2 separate regions of the Homo sapiens genome follow, and region 1 is linked to region 2. Evidence: promoter capture Hi-C in human tissues and cell types (Jung and others, 2019). All regions are on one chromosome and are shown on one strand. The core of a region is centred on a gene start or on the middle of the fragment in contact, and the rest is flanking DNA. Distances in the headings are between cores, read along the strand shown.

What was found. The method cuts DNA at HindIII sites, captures the fragments that hold promoters and counts their contacts. A contact is called where the count stands out against the background at its distance.
Region 1: a fragment that was not itself captured here is called in contact with the fragment with the promoter of NMNAT2 in region 2 in 1 of the 25 tissues and cell types used here (heart right ventricle).

Annotation. Positions count from the first base shown.
Region 1 is chr1:183,373,533-183,376,714 of GRCh38, forward strand. All of the region lies in intron 1 of NMNAT2 (nicotinamide nucleotide adenylyltransferase 2), which reads right to left. Among named protein-coding and RNA genes, the nearest start is that of NMNAT2, 43 kb to the right of the region's middle. The HindIII fragment of the contact is 5,992 bases long and covers 1-3,182 here.
Region 2 is chr1:183,416,985-183,419,856 of GRCh38, forward strand. NMNAT2 (nicotinamide nucleotide adenylyltransferase 2) reads right to left here and starts at 1,396. Exons shown (of 11, transcript NM_015039.4): 1 at 1,199-1,396. The coding sequence starts at 1,283. The HindIII fragment of the contact is 5,834 bases long and covers 1-2,872 here.

The DNA of each region.
Region 1 (3,182 bases), core at 411-2,910, 43 kb before region 2:
CACCAAGGAAAAACAAGTGTCCACAGCAAGGGTCTGCACTTATTCTAAAGCTTCTGCCACTTCTGTTGAGATGGTTGAACTTTATTCTTTTTTTTTTTTTTTTGAGACAGAGTCTCACTCTGTTGCCCAGGCTGGAGTGCAGTGGTGCCATCTCGGCTCACTGCAACCTCCGCCTCCTGGGTTCAAGTGATTCTCCTCTCTCAGCCTCCAAAGTAGCTGGGACTACAGGCACACGCAACCATGCCCGGCTAATTTTTGTATTTTTAGTAGAGATGAGGTTTTACCATGTTGGCCAAGCTGGTCTCAAACTTGTGACCTCAAGTGATCTGCCCGCCTCAGCCTCCCAAAGTGCTGGGATTACAGGCATGAGCCACTGCGCCTGGCCAGTTGAACTTTATTCTTTATTAGTAATTAAGAAGTGCTACCTTGTATTGAGCAATCATTATGTGTCACTTTGCTAAATACATTTTGTATATTATTTCATGTAACTCTTATGCAATAACTCAGGTGTTGGATACAATAACTCAGGTGTTGTTGTCCTCAAATTTTAGGTAAGGAATCTGAAGTTCAGAGAATGTAAGTAACTGCTCCAAGGTCATCCATGTAGGGTTGAGGGTCTGAACCAATTCCCTCTCTCCCTAAGTCTACACTCAACCAGTATACCGTGGCACCATTTATTTTGACAAGAAGAATTACCAACAGATAAAAAGCAAAAAAGTGATGTTTCCTCCAAAGGGAAGATAGACTTCAGGAATCTGCTTGCACCCCCCTGGCTCTGGGCACCTCACCTGTGCAATTCCAGACCAGGCCATCTGTCCTCAAGAGGCCGCTGGCCTCAGAGCCTTCTACCCCGTCAAGAAGAGCCTTTCTCTCCCCACTTATGGGGGATCATCTGCTTAAACTAGGCCGGAGTCATAATCATTCATTCCAGAAGGGGCTGTGATTCACATCTGAGCTTCAGAAAATGGTTTAGTTTGATTTAAAGGGGAGATGAAAGCAAAATAAATGCTCAGATGCTGACAAATTTCTCCAGATCTTAATTTACATTCATTTTCCTTTCAGAGCATTTGATTTGTTTTTATTTTCAAACTGTGTTGTACCACATGCAAGGAAAATAGATTTACTTAAGCTGTATCCTGTGATTTCATTGTTTATTAATATCAATACCAAGTAGATGAGGAGTGCTAAGAGAGGAACATCAGATGGCTTTCCATCTTCTCTCTAGGAAGCCATAATGAGAACCATCAAGCTTAGGAGTTTCAGAGGCTTAGGCAGTCTTCAGGGCTGACAGCCACACTGAGTGTCACTTCCCCAGATGCTCCCTTGTAGTCAGACTGACCTTGGAACAATGCAACTGGAAGACTTTAGTCCCCTCCCTAGGAATAGGATGTGTGTTGATATTCCTAGTGTGTGTCTAAACATGGTCTGCATTTAGCTTGAGTGTTGACATTCATCGATCCCTAAATGTTTCAAAAGAGGGAAGCATTCCAGCCTAGCTTTTCAGGGAAGCAGAGAATCAGGTTTTTCAGGACTGGGGGCAGGAAGGCCTCTTAGGACAATCACCACAGCTTCCTAACTCATGCCCCTACCCCCATCGGCTTTGTCTCTCCTTTGTCCTCCACAGACCTGCCATCATAATATGATCTTACCACCTCCCTATTCAGAATTCTTCACCATTAGCTACTAAAATAAATAAATAAACAAATAATAACAACCCATGGCCAGTGCTTCCCTTTATTTATCCAATCATTTGACAAATATTTATGGAGCACCTGCTCTGTGCCAGCCATAGTTTGGCTCTGGCCAGCCTCTTCAGCCACATCTTCTACTCCACTGTCCCCCAACTCCACACCCTACTCCCCACTTACTCTTCAGCACTTTCTATTTCCTGAGCCTGACTTGCGCTTTCCCTCCCCTATGCCTTTGCCCAGGCTGTTTCCTGTGGCAATTCCTCTCTTCCACACACATGTATCCAAGTTCTACACAGCTTCAAAGACAACTCAAGTCTCAACTCACTTTCTCTAAGAAAACTTCTTGGATTTCCCCAAGTCAGCATTAATTCTCTGACCACCTGCAGCCTCCCCTATCTCCTGGAAGAAGTAGCTGCTCCCCTCTCAATTCCTTGACCACCATGCTCTTTCCAATCCCTCCATTAGTTTCTTATACCTTGGTGGCATTACTTCTTGACTACTATCCATTGAACGAAGAGTCCATGTTTATTCTCCTCCCTCCAACTAAGTCCAGAACAAAGCCTCTCAGAGTACTTATGAGTCAATGGGTACATGAACACTTTCTCCTCTGTTCTCTTGGCACTGTGTGTTCATAATTAGGTTATTGATCACACTCTGGTATTAGAACAACCTGTGCTGTGTAGATAATTATAAACCACTTAAGGGCAAAACTCTTGTCTTGAGTATCTTTTTCATCTCCCACCACATCTGAAAAGAAACACCTCACTCAAAGTGGTCACTCACTAATGCTATTAAGATGAAAGGTAAAAAAATTAAATTCCCATCCTTCCAGGTAGGCCTAGGAAGTACTGGGGAACACCTAAGGAGTGCTGAAGAGGTCATGATATCTTGACATCCAGTTCTGTTCAGCTAACATTTATGAGGACAACCTATGTGTTTTATTAATATTAATGTACTGATATAATAAATTAATGGTATTAATAATTAATATTCATTATTAATCTCATTAGTTGAGAACCTATTAAGTGGGTCACATTTGAGGGTAAAATTGGAGAAACAGAGGTGAATATGACATGATTCTCCTTTCCAGGAGTTTACAACAAAAATATAGAAGATAGAGCTATGTGAAAAAACAGCCAGGCTCTACAGCAATGGCTCATGAGTGATGGCTGAGTGCTTGTGCTGGTCTATAAGTAAGCATCCATTGATCTATGATGAGGAGTGGAAAAAATTGACTTCACTTTATTGAAGGCTAAATTTATTCCAAGTAAAGGACTGTTCACTATTCCAAGAGTATATCCTTTGTACTTTGGTGGGTGGGTGTTTCCTTTCATATTGCCATGATGCGATGACAGGTGAGTGATTTTTGGTTTGGAAACTAAAAAGTTGAGAATCTAACATTGACCCTCCCAATTATTTTTTATTTTAATTTTGCTGTCCCATAAAATTCAAACCTGGAATTCACCATTTCCCTATATAGAACTTTAGGAT
Region 2 (2,872 bases), core at 146-2,645:
ACACGCTCTCTCATCCATCCCAGCCCACTCGCTTTTCCCTACTCCTCGCTTCTCTCAGTTTCAAGAAAAAGCACCCCCAACTTCTAACTTCTCAATTCCTGCTTCTAAAGTGACCTCCGCGTCCCTCTTTCCGTGTCTAAACGCTCATGCCCCACGCCTTTGAGTCCTACGAGCAGCTGCGAAGCCGCGTGGCTTCCCACCGGTGGCGCGAGACCTCCAATAGGCATCTATCGATCACCTTTCCCCTACCGCTGCTGGACCCCGAACCAGCCAGCCGGATGCCCCCGCTCGCTCTCTCTGACTCCACGCCCCAAAGCTTCTAAGAAACAAACGCGCGATAAGTCCCCTCCCCCCAACACGCACACGCATATACTCACACACAGTCATTCGCACATTCGTACACACACTAGACGCCTCAAGCCTTCCGAGTGCCATCGCCACCCTGGGCAGAGCCTCAGCCAACTTGGGCCCCGATCCTTCGGCTCCGGCTCGCGCAGGGCCTCCCGCAGCCTCCGCCCGGCCCCCTCCCCGTCCTAGGCAGCGGGTCCCTGAGGCCGAACCTAGGCGGAAAAGGGCCCCCTCCCTATTCACTCAGCATCCACCTCGCGCGGGCAATACACGGCCCACAATTCCCAAACACTGGTCCCTGGGCCGCCCAGAATCACCAGCCAAATCCGAAATTAATCTTGAAGCCCCAGCCCCTGTCACCGGTGTGTCGGGCGCGAGTGTGTTTGCGAATCCCAGGCACATACATGATTTAACTCCTTCGAGCTTTCGGCCCATCCTAAACAAACAGCACGTTATCTCCAGCCCCTTCCTCCCCTACTCGGCGCCCCAACCTCTGCCCCCATCCCGGTCTTCGCCAGCCTGGTAGCCGAACCACCGCACCGCCACACTCCAGTTCTGGTATCTCGAACCCCTGCCCAGCCCCAAATGATACTCATCTCTAGTCCCCTCCCATCCCCCACCTTTGGCCCCCTGCGAGCCGGGTCTGGCCCCGGCAAGTGACGCCTCGGAAACGCAGTCTGCGTACCCTCCCCTGAGTCCAAAATGAAGGGGCCGACCTCCACCAGCTGGATGAGCCGGCCCACCCCTCCGAAGGGGCACACGCCTTCCCGTTCGATCGCCCTGGAAAACACAGGTGCCTGGGAAAGGAGAGGAGCGGAAGCGGCTTCCAGAGGTGGGCGGGAGGACTCACCAAACATCTGAATGTGCCCTTTGGTGATGGGATTGAAGCTGCCGCAGGCGAGCAAGATAACGTGGGTCTTGGTGGTCTCGGTCATGGTGCAGATGGGTCCTTCGCGGTGGTCTAGGGGTTGCCTCTCTTTTTGTGTCTCGTTGTGTCTGCAGAGGGAGAAAGGAAGGCGAGGCTCCGGCGGTGGATGCTGTGGACTCCAAGGAGCCGCTCCAGACGCAAACCGCGTCACTCTCCGCCTCCCCTTAACGCTTGCAGCTCCGGCTAGATCCGAGGCTGCTTTTGTATTGCTCTGCTCTCTTCTCTCCTCGGTCGCTCTCTTTTCGTTCTGGCTTCCTTCGCATCTCTCGCCTGGTGCCCCACCCCATCCTCTCTATCGCCCCCAGCCCACTTCACTCCATCACTGTCTTCCTTAGAGTTTATCCAGAAGGCAAGACGTGGTATCCAAGCTCAGAACCAAGAGCCCACAGCATGGTGTGAGCTCTTTCTGCCTCTTGCCTCATCTTGATTCAGTTTTCCTCCTCATTCTAACATTTTTCTGTCCCCCCTACTTTCTCTAACATCTCCAAGTTAAAAAATGTTTGATCTTAAGGTATTTTTTCTTTCTCTCTTCCTCAAAATTTTAAGTGAGAAATGACCATTGTTTATTTCAGTAGTATTCATTTCTGCTTTTCCTTTTTCCTTTATCTGATGATTCCAAACTATTGAGTTGAGTCCAAATCTTGATCTGCTGGCTGCAGAGAGATAGGGGTGATCTAAGCCCTTCCTCTGCAATACTGATCCTTTTCGTGGGCGAAGCAATGCTATCCGTTTGAGAGAACATGAAGGGGGCAGAGTTACTAAAACTGTATTAGAAAATTATGGGGATCCGCCGGGTGCGGTGGCTCATGCCTGTAATCTCAGCACTTTGGGAGGCCGAGGCGGGCGGATCACGAGGTCAGGAGTTCGAGACCAGCCTGGCCAGCACGGTGAAACCCTGTCTCTACTAAAAAGCAAATACAAAAACTAGCCGGGCATGGTGGCGAGTGCTTGTAATCCCAGCTACTCAGGAGGCTGAGGCAGGAGAATTGCTTGAACCTGGGAGGCAGAGGTTGCAGTGAGCGAAGATCGCACCACTGCACTCCAACCTGGGCGACAGCGAGAATCCATCTCGAAACAAAAAAAAAGAAAAAAGAAAATGATGGGGATCCTCCATAAGCTACCAAAGTTGAGACAAAGACTTACCATTTAACAAGTGTTTCTTGAGGGCTCATTATGTGTCAAGTATTGCTATAAACCCTGCTGGTGAAGCAAAGTCACTGTCTTCATTTTACTGGAGGAAGATAGACAATAAATATTAGATGGCAATTGTGCAATGCACAGTAAGTGAATGCAATTTACTCTCTGACAGAGCAGAGAGTGAGTGGAGAAGAGAGGACGAATCAAGTAGTCTGAGAAGGCCTCTCTGGGGAGGTGACATTTCAGTGAGACCTGAGCGACAGGAGTAGTTGCTAGCTCACGTATTCAGGGACAGGGAAGGGCTTACTGTATTCATAGAAATGAAAGGCCAGTGATGCTAGAAAGTATGGGCAAGGGGAAAAATGATAGAAGACTGAGCAGCAGGTGATCAGGGCCAGATCAAATGGGGCTTGTAGACTAGGGCAAGAGTTAGACACTTTTCTAAGTGGAATAATAACA